Linked DNA regions of Homo sapiens: regions 1, 3 and 4 are each linked to region 2. The links are contacts of gene promoters, found by promoter capture Hi-C in human tissues and cell types (Jung and others, 2019). All regions are on one chromosome and are shown on one strand. The core of a region is centred on a gene start or on the middle of the fragment in contact, and the rest is flanking DNA. Distances in the headings are between cores, read along the strand shown. Region 1 overlaps SPIDR (scaffold protein involved in DNA repair). Region 2 holds the start of SPIDR (scaffold protein involved in DNA repair). Region 3 overlaps SPIDR (scaffold protein involved in DNA repair). Region 4 has its middle 17 kb from the start of CEBPD.

Region 1 (4,157 bases), core at 1,192-3,691, 420 kb after region 2:
CATTTTAGTCCTCATTAGAATATTCATTGTAGGCCAGGCACGGTGGCTCCTCACACTTTGGGAAGCCAAGGCAGGCTGATCACTTGAGGCCAGGAGTTTGAGACCAGCCTAGCCAACATGTCAAAACCCTATCTCTACTAAAAATAAAAAATAAAAATTAGCTGGGCATGGTGGCACATGCCTGTAGTCCCAGCTACTTAGGCTGAGGCATGAGAATTGCTTGAAACCTCGAGGCAGAGGTTGCAGTGAGCTGAGATTGCACCACTGCACTCCAGCCTGGGTGACAGAGCGACACTCTATCTCAAAAAGAAAAGAATATTCATTGTAAACATTTCAGACTCACAAGCATCTGAAGACTAAGTGTAGTTATGGTAACCATCAGGGTCGTTTAGAGGGGAGGGCTCTTTCACTCGGCTGCCACCCACCTGAGCCTGGCAAGGACACGAGGGGGCTCCCGCCACAGGATGTTCCAGCTGTGCTCCAGGCCAGAGGCAGCTGTTCTGGCTGGAGACTGCAGGACGTAGCATCTTACAGAAATACTGCTGGGGAAGGACACAGCCAGACAGGACCTGGGAATCTTTGTCTCTCTAAAGGTCCTGTTCTTTCACCATTCTTCTTTATAGCCATACATGTACCTAACATTTAATCTAGTTTTTGTGGTTGGCACTAGAAGCCTAACCGTCTGTAACATTTACATGGGAAATGTTTTTGCCATGGGAAATGCATTGAGTATTCCAACAAATTCATTTACTGATAAACTTTTGAACCTCCTTCCTTGTTAAAGTTGGTGACTAATATTTGATGCTTTTTTAGGTTGAGATTATTTTATATATTTAATTATATTTTGCCATGCAAAACATCCAAATAAATGTTTAGATTGTGTTCTTGTTCTTTTGGAAGCTATATTTCTTCAAAACAAATTATTAAATAGTTTTGGAATGTGGGATGTTATAATTGCTTATTAGTGACATCATCCATCCATGGCCCAGTAAACACAACATTCTCTCTCTTTTTTTTTTTCCAAATTATTGTGTTTCATAGCAATTCTCGTAAACTTTAACAAAATATGCTTCTCATAAACCTTAACAAAATATACTTCCCCAAATTCAAGCTAAAATGATTAATTTTATAATTTCAGTATCTAATACCGAAAATAACCTTTTCCCAATTGGAAGATAGTTGTATGTTTGGGCTAAGTCACAGAGCCTCTTAGATCTGGCCTACCAGATCTAAATTTCATCTGATCCACAGTTCTGGTGATGAAATATCACTCAGCCCTACCCGCTGTTGAATGGCTGTGTTGCAGGGAACTTGTGATCACAGAGCCACCAGGCAGGCACACATGCTGCCAGATGCCTATGCAGGGAGCACCGCTCCAGCCACCTGCTTTGGTCCAGAGGCTCGCAGAAAAACAGCATCATAGCTTTTGTTTCTCTGACGGACTAATTTTTTGGATTTGAGTGTCTATGTCGACTGGTCAGAGGAAGAAGAGTCAGAAAAACAGCCTGAGCTTCGGTTTAAAAACTGTACAGTTTTCACAACAGTGCCAGTCTGATGTATGCTCACCGCAGAACATGCAGCATGGCCTGTGCTTCCTTCCTCTCCGGGGCACACCTGCTATTCCTCAATGACTCTCTACTAAGGGCCACCCCCCAACCTGCCCCCGACCACCGACCTCTGTCCTCCCAAGTGGCCTGTGCGGCACTTTAGTAGGCCAAACAAGCTGAGAAGTCACGTGGCTTTGGTGTCATAATTCTGTGTGTGAACTTCATTTTTTGTTGCTGTTTATTATATGCTTTTATTTGTATTTGCCAGGGCAATACTGAGAAAAAGAAAAGAAATTCCCTGAAATATGTTAACCTATCATAGGTATAGAAACTATAGCTAACAAATTATTTTGTGGGGAGTGGGGAAAGGAGACCTCTTTCAGTTCAAAAATCTGGTATTTATTTCCCAACTTGTTAAAACAACCACAGAGTCCAAAATATATTATTAATTTATAGGTACTATTTTCTGTAGGCCTCTTGAAGGGCCGTTTTACAGTAGTGTACTGGAGAAGCTCTTACTGAAGAGCATTTTGTCAATACTCAGTGTCTACAGAGGGTGCTGTCTGAGTGTTGAGAATGACAAAGGAAGCAACTGACATGGTCTTTGACCTTGAATTGTGTCCCTTTCAACCCAAAACAGGACAGGCAGAAGTATTAGAGTAGTTGATGATTCAATTAACTAGATCTTAGCTGACTGATCTCAGAAGGTTTCATGAAAGAAGTGAGAACAAATGCTTTAAACATCTTGATCTAGCAGAAAGAAAAGTGTCTCTAAATTGGTGAGATGTTATCTGTGGAGACAAATGTAGGATTTAGAGAGAGAGATGCAAAAGGGGAAGTAAGAGGGTTTATTCAAGAGAGATTATGACTGGGTGCAGTGGCTCTTGCCTGTAACCTAGCACTTTGGGATGCCAAGACGGGCAGATCGCTTGAGCTCAGGAGTTCGAGACCAGCCAGGGCAACATAGTGAGACCTCCACCTCAAAAAAAAAAAAAAAGAAAAAGTTAATTCTCTCACTTATTCAGTAAATATTATTTAGTCCCTGTTTGTACTATGCTCCCAGCTAGTTGCCATGGCATTGAGCTGTGTGCCAGATTTGGGGGATTTATCACAAACCAGAATATACTGAGGTATAAAGTCTGCTAGATAAAGCCTAAATCCTATTATTAGGGATTTTGCATTGGTTCCAGAGAAATGAGGGTCGATATGAGTTTTTGAGTGAAGAAGAGAAGAGGTCATAAACACAAAAATGGAGTAAGACTGTCTACTCCTGTACCTGCAATAGATGGGAAATTGAGGGAGAGATTGGGATAGGGCCACAAGGCTGGAAACTTTTCCCACAGCTGAAGGAAGGGGAACAGAGAAGTGGTACATAGGGAGCTCTCAGGAGCTGTGGCACATGCCAGGAGCACAAAACAGCTCACTTCCTCCACACTCAGAGCAGCATGGAAGCCAAGGGGAGACTCAGAAGGATAGCTGGTGATGCAGCACCACCTAGCAAGCACCCACACAGAGAGCGGAGGCTCAGAGCACCCACTTTGGAGGGGGTGCAGAGGGTGGGGTAAGATGTAGGAGCTCTGGAGAGAACAGGAAAGGCATGGGCTAAGGGCTAAAATGGAAGGGAGAACAAGCTCCCAGGCCCACACAGCCATTTCATCCCCTGGGGAGTGAGGCAAGGCGAGGACCACTGCCCTGGTCAGTTTCCATGAAAAGGTGAGGGGAGGAAGTGCATTTCAGAGAATGAGCCAATTGAGAAGCTATTGTCTAAACACCAAATTTGATTTTTACGGCAGCAGATTAAGTGGTGATAAGCTTTATATCAGAAGCCAAGCTCAGTCAACATGCTCAGAAAAATAACCATCTGAGTCAGGATAGAAAGTTCCTTTGTAGCCCCCAGTGGGATTCCCAGCCCACTGCCCTGCTAGCCTCTGCACTAGTTTCCCAGGCTTTATTTAACCCCCTTTTCCCTCACAGGCCAGTCTCATGCTGCACCCTCATTAAGGGCCCAGCACTGCCTCCCTTGCCTCCTGCTGCAACCACCACCAGGGTGCCCTCTGGCACCATGGAGGTAACCTTGCAGCTCACTCTGGTGCCTGTGCCTAGGGCTGTGTGGGATGTCTGCTAGCCTGTGGCCCAACACAGACGCATGTTTTAATGTCAGTGAGCAGTGTCACTGGTATAGGTTTGAGTGTGCCCCTTTTTTGATGAATAATATGAGAACATCATGCCATTCATATGAGGAGCCCTCCAGTGCATCATAGATGCATCATACAAGGGCTGCTCTCCAGTGCTGGCCCATGGCACGTGCCTGCCTTCCCCATCCCCTCCAGTGCTGGCCTGTGCCAGGTCCCCACCTTCCCCCGCCCCCTCCAGTGCTGGCCTGTGCCAGGTGCCCACCTGCCCCCATCCGCTCCTGTGCTGGCCTGTGTCAGGTGCCTACCTCCCCCCACCCCTTCCAGTGCTGGCCTGTGCCAGGTGCCCACTTCCCCCATCCCCTCCAGTGCTGGCCTGTGCCATGTGCCCGCCTGCCTCCATCCCCTCCAGTGCTGGCCTGTGCCATGTGCCCGCCTGCCTCCATCCCCTCCAGTGCTGGCCTGTGCCATGTGCTGC
Region 2 (3,938 bases), core at 914-3,413:
GGTGTAGTGGAGAATGCATCGACCTTGGTATCACATATGAGTTCTAATCCTGAACAGTTACTAGCTGTGCAGCCTCTGGCAAGTCATTTCTGTTTCACAATTAGCAGTTCATCCATAGTAAATAACTGAGTACTTTGTATATGGAAGACGCTGTGCTAACTGATAGAGATACAAAAACGGAGAAGATAGAAATGGTATTACCTTACAGCATGGAGGTGGAACCACATGGTAAACAAATAACTTTCGTAATTATTTAGATTCTAATTGTTATAACATCTTCAACAGAGCATGAGGTCCTGCGGACATGGAAGAGCAGGGAGGTTCAGGCTTGCTAGTTTAGGGAAGCTGGCCACCAGGTTCAGGTTTGACAGGCGCATAGGAAATGGCATGGCAGAGGGAGGCCAGAGCCTTTTAGGCAAAAGGAAGAGCAAATGCTTATTAGACCCCAAGGCTGCAGGAGCTAGGCACGTTTGACCACCGAAAGGGAAGGCCAGTATAGACAGCATAAACCTCACTGTGGTGTCTGTGTTGAGAATGGATTGTATGTGTGTGCTGTGTGAGGGGCAAGAGTGGATTAGGGGACATGGGTTAAGAGCTACTAGCAGTCTGGGCAAAAGATACTAGTGGCCTGGGAAACAGTGGTAGTGGAGAGTGGACACATTAGTAAGACACACAAACGTGTTCACAAAAATTCCTAGGTTTCTGCGTGAGCTGTGGCCAGGTGGATGTCCATGCCACTACTGAGATGGCGAATTCTGAACAGGAGGAAGTTTGGAGAAAAACCCCAACATTTCGGCAGGACAGCACCTCCTGGTGGAGATGACAAGCGGGAGCCTCACCACAGGCCTGGTTGTGGGAGTGAAAGGGGGACTCCGGGCGCGGTCGGGTGCACTTACTGTGCTAAGACAGCAAGGCCCGGCGGAGGTGGCAATGGCAGACCTGGTTTCTCGGCGGAGTCCCAGTGGGAGGCCCGGTGTCCAAAATCCTCAACTAGATTGGGCATGCCGTTTATCTTGTTCCAACTGTTGACAGTAATGGCACTAGCAATAATGTCCTTCCCAGGCAAAGATGGTTTTTCTTCCGTGTTTTCAGCCACTGCAGAGTGGACATCTACTATGAACCAAGTATCTGCGGCTTTAGGTACCAGATTCAAACACAGAATGGTGGCAGAACAGGGACTAGGACGGAGAGAAAACCTGAAGATGGATCAACCAGGAAGCAATGCATTCTCACAGAGGCACAAAAAAATGCCTCTGAAACAGAAGATTCACCTCCACTTCTGCGTCCTTTTGAGGCAACTTTCTGAGCATCCTTTCCTCCTCCCCAGGCCAACGCTTTTCCACCTTGTTAAACTACCCGGTAGCTTTCTCCATGGGAGGCGCCTTCTTCACAGTACTCGGACCCAGTTACACTTGTGGCCTTCCCCGGCTTCTGCTGGGCCGGCTATGGTCGACGCCGCACCGTCTCAGGCCCACTTCTCCTGCGGGAGCGGCGGCCCCAGCGGAGCCCCTGTGCGCCACGGCGAACGTGATAGGAATGCAATCTTCCGCCCCTTCAGACTCTGGCACCCCGTAGCCTTTCCTCAGGCTCCACGAGTTCTCCCGGTGATGTGATGACCGACATGGCGTCTGGGCTCTGAACACAGACTTTACTCCTTCCCCCCGGCCCCGAAACATGGGGAAACCACACCCTCTCTGCTCCAGTCACCAGCAGCCACTCCCATTCCTTAAGTATCCATTATTGCATGTGTAGCCTATTGCATGTGTAGCCTACTTCTGGTTTTCATTTTTATTTAAGGTCAGTTGTTGCCTGACAACACAGACGACAGTAACTTAATTCGAAAGACAATACTTGGAGGCGGCCCCCGCTCCAGGCACCAGCCCAGCAGCTCCCCCGAACTCCCCAGGAGCTCGCGGGCGAGCAACGCCACAGCCCAGAGCGAGCTCCGCGGAACCCCCAGCCCCGGGGAAGGAAGCTCGACTCTCCGCGGGGCACTCCTTCCGGGCTCCGGGCCCGACTAGGCCATCCGGGAGGCCCTGGAGCGCCGGGGCCGGAGAAGCCCTGCCCCCCGCCGAAGCCCCGCCCTGCGCCCGAGCGCCCGCCAATGGCAGGGCGCGGTGCGGCGCGCCGAGGTGGGACGGCGGCGCGCTGAGGAGGCGGTGCGCTCAGGCGGCGCTCCCGGAGATGCCCCGCGGCAGCCGCGCTCGGGGCTCTAAGGTAGGCTCTGGGGCGGGAGTGGGCGCCGCGCCGTTTCCCGCGTTGCGGGGAAGCGGCGGGCCGGCGCGGGGCTGGCCCCGTTGTGCTGGGGTGAGAGAGGGTGGGCGTTGGGGGTGAAGGGCTAGGTGGTGGCGGGTCCCGTCTGCGCGCGTGGAGCAAGCCCGCGCAGTGGGGTACCGCCCCCAGGTCCGGCTCCGGTCCAGGCGTGCGGGCCGGGCCCTCAGCGGCGGTACGGAAAGCGAGGGGTGGGACCGCCGAGGGACGCAGCGGGCGGGAGCATATGTCCGCCTCGGGGGTACTTGGCCTTACTCTTGTCTCTTTTTGATTCTGGTGTAATGTACCAAACCGCAGGGAATCCTGGCGTGGTTTTACCCGTCTCCGCGGATAATCCACTGTCAACTCTGTCTCTCTTCCTGCCGCACTCGGAGGGGACTGTGCGGCTGACTGCCCAATCCGTGGGCACCGCGCTGCCTCGGGTTCCAGAACGGGAGCGGGTGCCTAGGAATCGTTGCTTGAATGGTGTTTGATTGCACCTGTATCCGCGAGTGCATCCTTTTTTGTTCTGCTAATTGTGCTTGTCATGGCATGTGTCCTTTATCGTTTTAAAGTTTCTTCTAACTTCCTTGCTTTCAAATACGTTTGTCTCATAGTAAAACGGTTTTTAAAAAGCAAACACAGGACCTCCTTTCTTGACTCTTGCCTTTACTTGAAAACTTCCTGGAAAAAATAGACCACATATACTGGTTCAACTTCTTTACCACTACCATGCTTTCTCGCTTCTCAAATACCATTGATTATCAGCCCACACTATCAGTTTTGTGACTGGCTTTAGGGAATAAAGAAATTCATTTCAGGCACCTCTTGATTATAAGATACAGTCTGATTTCTGAAGCATTAATGTGTGAAAAAAATCAAGGAAATATATAAATTTGCTAAATCCAGTGTAAGTTGTTTACTTGATCATTGGAGCGTTTGACACATTCACCACCTGCTTTTATTTCTTTTGGAACATCCATGATTGTTTTCCTGTCTTGCAACAGCTCATTTTCTTCTCTTTACTGTGTTCGTGCCATGTTCTAATTTTTGACCTTGTGCTTTTTCACATGTTCCATATTTGCTTTGGACAATGTCATACATTGAAGTTAACTATATAGATGACTTTCAGATCTATATTAGATCTTTCCCTAGAGCTCAAACTTAGTGCATCACATAATCATCATCTCACCCTTAGTCCTCCAGGCCCTAACAGTTTCTCTTGACTTAGAAATCTTAGTATTTTTGAATTGACGTTCACTTCTGGTCTCTTCATCTTGTCATTTTTCAAGACTCTTTTTTTTTACTCAATTTTTTTTAGTAGTCGTACAGTTGTCTATTGTGTAATACGTTGCTGAAAACTGAAGCAGTTCATAACAAATGTTTATTATATCATAGAGTTTCTGAGACTCAGGAATCTGAGAACGGCTCAACTAAGTGGTTGTAGTTCAGGATCTCCCACAAGGCTGCAGTCAAATAAAGGGTCGTTGGAGCTGGAGAATCCAGTTCCAAGCTCACTCACGTGGTTGTTTCTTGACAGCTGCATAGGGCAGCTCACAACAGGGTCCTGGCTTTCCCAAGAGCAAGAGAGAGAGCAACAAGATATCGGTCCCCGTGTCTTTTATAGCCTAAACTCAGAAGTGACATCCCATCTCCTGTCTATTCATTACATGGACCAACCCGGTACA
Region 3 (3,763 bases), core at 2-2,501, 380 kb after region 2:
CTTAGTAGAGTGCCTACTATAGATGAGACGTTTTAAAACAGTATGGCCATTACAAATATATGTTTAATGATAGTGAGTAGTAAGTGCTTAAAGTAATAATGCTAAGCTTTAACAGTTCTTGAAATTTAAGTAAAAGGTAGTGGTACTAACACAAGCATGAAGGAATGCCACATGTGGCTGGAGTGCTGCTGGGCTCCCCTGCAGCCTCTCAAGGGAGGAGGATGAACACTCAAGGGATGGACCAACTGAAGCAGGGAAACTTGGCCACTTACTGCCTGACATAGAAGCCCAGCTGACTGCTGCATCTTACCCAGCCCACCATGTGTAAGAACTGGTTGAGACGACATTGAATTCCCTAAACTTCTGGGTGCTCAGTGGTGAACTGAGATGGAATACCTGCCAGCAGCTGGGCAGAGGAAAGAAAGCCAGCACTCTGGGAAGGTAGGCTTCACCTACTTACATCCTAATGGGGACTCACAGTGGCAGCAGAGCTGTGCAGAGCCTCGGGCCCTGGCATGGTATTCCAGCCAGAGTGGACTCTGCGCACGTGTGGGAGCAGCCCTGGCATTCAAGGATTTGCATTGAAGGCCTTGGTTGAGGATGCTGTGAAGGTGGCCACTGTGTGTATGGAGCAGTGACTTTATGGGTCAAGAATTCGACATGTGGCTGGGCACAGTGGCAGACACCTGTAATCCCAGCACTTTGGGAGGCCGAGGCAGGCGGATCACGAAGTAAGGAGATCAAGACCATCCTGGCTAACACGGTAAAACTAAACTAAAAATACAAAAGTTAGCCGGGTGTGGTGGTGGGCGCCTGTAGTCCCAGCTACTCGGGAGGCTGAGGCAGGTGAATGGTGTGAACCCAGGAGGTGGAGGTTGCTGTGAGCCAAGATCGTGCCACTGCACTCCAGCCTGGGCGACAGAGCGAGACTCCGTCTCAAAAAAAAAAAAAAAAAGAAAAAGAATTCGACATGTGCTTGCTATGTGAGGCCAGTGAGTGAACCCGCACTCTGAGGCTCAGCATTTATAGGTCAAGACAGCCCGCTGACTTCTTTGGGACCTGTCATAAACTCTTCTAAAGTGTTAATGTTTTTCGTATGCAAGAAAGCTCACCAATAAAAGAGGAAACTTTAGGGAAGGTTGAAAAGCAACTGTGGACTGGCCACGGTGATTTATCCCTTTAATCCCGGCACTTTGGGAGGCAGGAGGATTGCTTGAAGCCAGGAGTCTGAGACCAGCCTGGGCAACAAAGTGAGACCCCGTCTCTACTAAAAATTTAAAAATTAGCTGGGCATGATGGTGCACGCCTGTAGTCTTAGCTACTTGAGAGGCTGAGGCAAGAGGATCGTTTGAGGCCAGGAGCTCAAGGCTGCAGTGAGCCATGATGGCAGCAGAGTGAGACCCTGTCTCTAAATAAATAAATAAATGGAAAAACAATGGGATTTGATAGAAGGCAGGAACATGTACAAATATTGCAAATTTTTGCAAATTTGGGAAATTATGAAGATCTTAATCATACATATGGATTCTAGCATATGGACTGTTATTGATTGAATCTGGATTATTTTAGTTGGTTCTACTTTGTTCTACTGCATTGAAAATCATTGTTAGTATATTTAGTCTTCTCAGCTAACATCTTATACCTAGATAACTGTTGAGGTTTATAAAGGCCTTAAAACATGAATAATACTTACACAACTGTGGGATGCTTTTTTTTTAACTGAATGTATTGTAAGTCAAATTCAGTCCATATCTAAAGTCTGAAAATTTTAATATTCAGATGACTAATAGGTATAACTCTTTACCTTCTAGTCTGCATTCTGTAGTATTTGCCATACTTCTATAACTGCAACTTCTATTTTATTTATTTTAATTTTTTATTTGTTTGTTTTGAGACAGTCTTCCTCTCTTACCCAGGCTGGAGTGCAGTGGTGCAGTCACAGCTCACTGCAGCCTTAGTCTCCCATGCTCAAACAATCCTCCCACCTCAGCCTCCAGAGTAGCTGGGACTTAAGGCACATATCACCACACCTGGCTAGTGTTGTTGTTGTTGTTGTTGTTGTTGTTGTTTTCTAGAGACGGTTTCATCATCTTGCCCAGCCTGCTCTCAAACTCCTAGGCTCAAGTGATCCTCCCACCTTGACCTCCCAAAGTTCTGGGATTACAGGCGTGAGCCATTGTGCCTGACCGCAACTTCTATTTTAGAGAAAGCTGCAACTCAATAATTAGTGGAATATTTCCTATGTATATTATATACACAAAAAAGCATTTGCCATGAAAAACCTAAACTGTGTATTCAAAAGCTTTAATATAAACAGTATTATTCAAAATGGAAAGACTTTCATTCCTGCCCTCATGAAATAGAAATTCAGCTATATTTGATCATGACTGTAGAATATTACTAGAGATTGGGTTTTTTATGTTATGTTTTGTTCAAGTAGATACACCTTTTTGAGGTCATTCATATAGTTAGTGACATGTAAATGCTTTTTAACTACACTGTTTAAACAGTATCAACAGAGGCTTCGAGTGTGATGTTTACATTTCTGGAACTTACGGGCTGTACCCTCAGTCTGTCCTGGAACCTCTGCATTCCACCCTCAGTCTATCCTGGCTGCTGTGAAGATGGAGTGCTGGTGGCTGGTCGTTAGCAGTCACTCCACCTCACACCCAAGTTTAGCCACATGGCCAAGCCAGTCCTGTGGTGTTTATCAAGGAAGAAGGGCCCTGGAGATTGCAGGCTCCACTTTCTGCCTCCCCAGCCATCCCTTTACTTGCATACCTGGCAGGAAGGGTTAGGTAGGACAGCCAAGCACAGCATAAATCTGAACGGAAGCTGATGTCAGGTCTCTCTCCTTCTTAGCTGTGCCCCACAGCTGTGCCCCACTATCACGCAAGTTGTTTCATGTGGCACATTCTGTGATGATGACGTAATCGTGTTACCTTCATTTACTGAGTGCTTGCTAGGCATTACAAAATTATGAAGCACCTCCTCGTGTTGGGTTTAGGAATATAGAGCAATGAACAAAACAGACAAGGGGCCGGCTCTCCAGAATAAAGTAAATAAGATCATTTTCAATTGGTTTGTAGCCAGGTAACCTTGGACAAATTACCTTATACTTTACTTTTCTCATTTGTAAAATGGAGGTTATGATGGTATCTCCTTATGTGATTGATATATTAATGAGATAATACTCAAAAAGCACTTAGAACAGGTCCTAGTACATGGTGAATGCTAAGTGCTCAAAAAGCACTCCCAATTATTATGAGACATAATACTGTGTGCCATGATATGGAGTAACCTGGATAGGAGCATCAAGGTCACCTTGGAATGAGCAGTGAGGGGAAGCTGAAGAGGGAGAGCTTCAAGGTGAAACCTAACGGATGAAGTGGAGTCAGCCACGAAAAGCTCCAGGAGACACACTTTCCATGCAAAGACACCAGCTATTGCAAAGAAAAGGATGGACTTGCTGTGTTCTAGGAGCAGAAGAGAGGCCAGTGTACCTGGGATGTAGAGATGTACCCAGGGGCTGAGACAGATGATTAGCACACAGAAGAGCCAGGTGCCAGAAGTTTAGACTTCATTCCAAGGACAGTGAGAAGCCTTTAAGGTTTTCAGCATGAGATACATGTGATCCAATCTGTGCTTTGAAAAGATCACTCCAGCTGCTCCAGATCAAATGGAATGTGGAGGTACAAGAATAGGAACAGGAAACAAGTTAGGCTATTTCAAAAATCCAGCCAGGTCAGACTGACGACCTGGA
Region 4 (3,576 bases), core at 544-3,043, 490 kb after region 2:
GGGAGAATGGAACCAAGTTGGAAAACACTCTTCAGGATATTATCCAGGAGAACTTCCCCAACCTAGCAGGACAGGCCAACATTCAAATTCAGGAAATACAGAGAAGACTGCAAAGATACTCCTCAAGAAGAGCAACCCCAAGACACATAATTGTCACATTCACCAAGATTGAAATGAAGGAAAAAGTGTTAAGGGCAGCCAGAGAGAAAGGTCAGGTTACCCATAAAGGGAATCCCATCAGACTAACAGTGGATCTCTCTGCAGAAACCCTACAACCCAGAAGAGAGTTGAGGCAAATTTTCATCATTCTTCAAGAAAAGAATTTTCAACCCAGAATTTCACATCCAGCCAAACTAAGCTTCATAAGTGAAGGAGAAATAAAATCCTTTACAGACAAGCAAATGCTGAGAGATTTTGTAACCACCAGTCCTGCCCTACAAGAGCTCCTGAAGGAAGCAGTAAACATGGAAATAAACAACTGGTAATAGCCACTCCAAAAACATGCCAAATTGTAAAGACCATCAGTGCTATGAAGAAACTGCATCAATTAGTGGGCAAAATAACCAGTGAACATCAAAATGACAAGATCAAATTCACATATAACAACATTAACCTTAAATGTAAATTGGCTAAATGCCCCAATTAAAAGACACAGACTGGCAAATTGGATTAACAAATAGACCACTAGCAAGTCTAATAAAGAAGAAAAGAGAGAAGAATCAAACAGATGCAATCAAAAATGATAAAAGGGGTATCACCACCAATCCCACAGAAATACAAATTACCATCAGAGAATATTATAAACACCTCTACACAAATAAACTAGAAAATCTAGAGGAAATGGATAAATTCCTGGACACATACACCTATGACCGGTGATGATGAGCTTTTTTTCATATGTATGTTGGCCACATAAATGTCTTCTTTTGAGAAGTGTCTGTTCATATCCTTCACCCACTTTTTGATGGGGTTGTTTTTTTTTTCTTGTAAAGTTGTTTAAGTTCTTTGTAGATTCTGGATATTAGCCCTTTGTCAGATGAGTAGATTGCAAAAATGTTCTCCCATTCTGTAGGTTGCCTGTTCACTCTGATGATAGTTTCTTTTGCTGTGCAGAAGCTCTTTAGTTTAATTAGATCCCATTTGTTAATTTTGGCTTTTCTTCCCATTGCTTTTAGTGTTTTAGTCATGAAGTCATTTGCCCATGCCTACGTCCTGAATGGTATTGCCTAGGTTTTCTTCTAGGGTTTGTTTTTTGTTTGTTTGTTTTGTTTTGCTTTTTTGAGACAGAGTCTTACCCTGTCACCCAGGCTGGAGTGCAGTGGCGCAATCTTGGCTCATTGCAACCTCCGCCTCCCGGGTTCAAGTGATTCTCCTGCCTCAGCCTCCAGAGTAGTTGGGACTACAGGCCCGTGCCACCATGCCTGGATTTTTTTTGAATATTTAGTAGAGATGGGGTTTCACTATGTTAGCCAGGATGTCTCAATCTCCTGATCTCGTGATCAGCCTGCCTCGGGCTCCCAAAGTGCTGGGATTACAGGCATGAGCCACTGTGCCCAGCCTAGGATTTTTATGGTTTTAGGTCTTATGTTTAAGTCTTTAATCCATCTTGAGTTAATTTTTGTATAAGGTGTAAGGAAGGGGTCCAGTTTCAGTTTTCTGCATATGGCTAGCCAGTTTTCCTAACACCATTTATTAAATAGGGAATCATTTCCCCATTGCTTGTTTCTGGCAGGTTTGTCAAAGATCAGATGGTTGTAGATGTGTGGCATTATTTCTATGGCCTCTGTTCTATTCCATTTGTCTATATATCTGTTTTGGTACCAGCACCATGCTGATTTGGTTACTATAGCCTTGTAGTATAGTTTGAAGTCAGGTGGCATGATGCCTCCAGCTTTCTTCTTTTTGCTTAGGATTGTCTTGGCTATGTGGGCTCTTTTTTGGTTCCATATGAAATTTAAACTAATTTTTTAATTCTGTGAAGAAAGTGACTGGTAGCTTGATGGGGATGGCACTGAATCTATTAATTACTTTGGGCGGTATGGCCATTTTCACAATATTGATTCTTCCTATGCATGAACATGGAATGTTTTTCCATTTGTGTCCTGTCTTATTTCCTTGAGCAGTGGTTTGTAGTTCTCCTTGAAGAGGTCCTTCACATCCCTTGTAAGTTGTATTCCTAGGGATTTTATTCTCTTTGTAGCAATTGTGAATGGGAGTTCACTCATGATTTGGATCTCTGTTTGTTTATTGTTGGTGTATAGGAATGCTTGTGATTTTTGCATATTGATTTTGTGTCCTGAGACTTTGCTGAAGTTGCAAAATTATCAGCTTTAGGAGATTTTGCGCTGAGACAATGGGATTTTACAAATATACAATTATGTCATCTGGAAACAGAGACAATTTGAATTCCTCTCTTCCTATTTAAATACCCTTTATTTCTTTCTCTTGCCTGATTGCCCTGGCCAGAACTTCCAATACTATGTTCAATAGGAGTGGTGAGAGAAGGCATCCTTGTCTTATGCCCGTTTTCAATGAGAATGCTTCCAGCTTTTGCCCATTCAGTATGATATTGGCTGTGGGTTTGTCATAAATTGTTCTTATTATTTTGAGATACGTTCCATCAATACCTAGTTTAGTGAGAGTTTTTAGCATGAAGTGGTGTTGAATTACATCAAAGGCCTTTTCTGCATCTATCTAGATAATCATGTGGCTTTTGTGTCATTGGTTCTGTTTATGTGATGGATTACATTTATTAATTTGTGTATGTTGAAATAGCCTTGCATCCCAGGGATGAAGCAGATTTGATCGTGGTGGATAAGCTTTTTGATGTGCTGCCGGATTCGGTTTGCCAGTATTTTATTGAGGATTTTCACATAGATGTTCATCAGGGATATTGGCCTGAAATTTTCTTTTTTTGTTGTGTCTCTGCCATGTTTTGGTATCAGGATGATGCTGGCCTCATAAAATGAGTTAGGAAAGAGTCTCTCTTTTTCTGTTGTTTGAATTAGTTTCAGAAGGAATGGTACCAGCTTCTCTTTGTACCTCTGGTAGAATTCAGCTGTCAATCCATCTGGTCCTGCACTTTTTTTGGCTGGTAGGCTATTAATTACTGCCTCAATTTCAGAACTTGTTATTGGTCTATTCAGGGATTCGACTTCTTCCTGGTTTAGTCTTTGGAAGGTGTATGTGTCCAGGAATTTATCCATTTCTTCTAGATTTTCTAGTTTATTTGCATAGAGGTGTTTATAGTATTCCCTAATGGTAGTTTGTATTTCTGGAAGGTCAGTGGTGATATTCCCTTTATTATTTTTTATTGGCTAGTGGTCTATCTACTTTGTTAATCTTTTCAAAAAACCAGCTCCTGGATTCATTGATTTTTTTTTGTTTGTTTTTAGACGGAGTCTTGCTCTGTCGCCCAGGCTGGAGTGCAGTGGTGTGATCTCAGCTCACTGCAGCCTCTGCCTCCCGGGTTCCAGCAATTCTCCTGCCTCAGCCTCCTGGGTAGCTGGTATTACAGGTGTGCACCACCATGCCTGGCTAATTTTTGTATTTTTAGTAGAGATGGGGTTTCACCAT

What was found. The method cuts DNA at HindIII sites, captures the fragments that hold promoters and counts their contacts. A contact is called where the count stands out against the background at its distance.
Region 1: a fragment that was not itself captured here is called in contact with the fragment with the promoter of SPIDR in region 2 in 1 of the 25 tissues and cell types used here (dorsolateral prefrontal cortex).
Region 3: a fragment that was not itself captured here is called in contact with the fragment with the promoter of SPIDR in region 2 in 1 of the 25 tissues and cell types used here (dorsolateral prefrontal cortex).
Region 4: a fragment that was not itself captured here is called in contact with the fragment with the promoter of SPIDR in region 2 in 2 of the 25 tissues and cell types used here (heart right ventricle and spleen).

What each region holds. Positions count from the first base shown.
Region 1 is chr8:47,675,510-47,679,666 of GRCh38, forward strand. All of the region lies in intron 11 of SPIDR (scaffold protein involved in DNA repair), which reads left to right. Among named protein-coding and RNA genes, the nearest start is that of CEBPD, 61 kb to the right of the region's middle. The HindIII fragment of the contact is 7,312 bases long and covers 1-4,157 here.
Region 2 is chr8:47,258,775-47,262,712 of GRCh38, forward strand. SPIDR (scaffold protein involved in DNA repair) reads left to right here and starts at 2,164. Exons shown (of 20, transcript NM_001080394.4): 1 at 2,164-2,217. The coding sequence starts at 2,185. RefSeq lists a silencer at 1,878-2,427. The HindIII fragment of the contact is 26,545 bases long and covers 1-3,938 here.
Region 3 is chr8:47,641,478-47,645,240 of GRCh38, forward strand. All of the region lies in intron 10 of SPIDR (scaffold protein involved in DNA repair), which reads left to right. Among named protein-coding and RNA genes, the nearest start is that of CEBPD, 95 kb to the right of the region's middle. The HindIII fragment of the contact is 4,785 bases long and covers 1-3,644 here.
Region 4 is chr8:47,753,506-47,757,081 of GRCh38, forward strand. No RefSeq gene overlaps it. Among named protein-coding and RNA genes, the nearest start is that of CEBPD, 17 kb to the left of the region's middle. The HindIII fragment of the contact is 4,548 bases long and covers 1-3,576 here.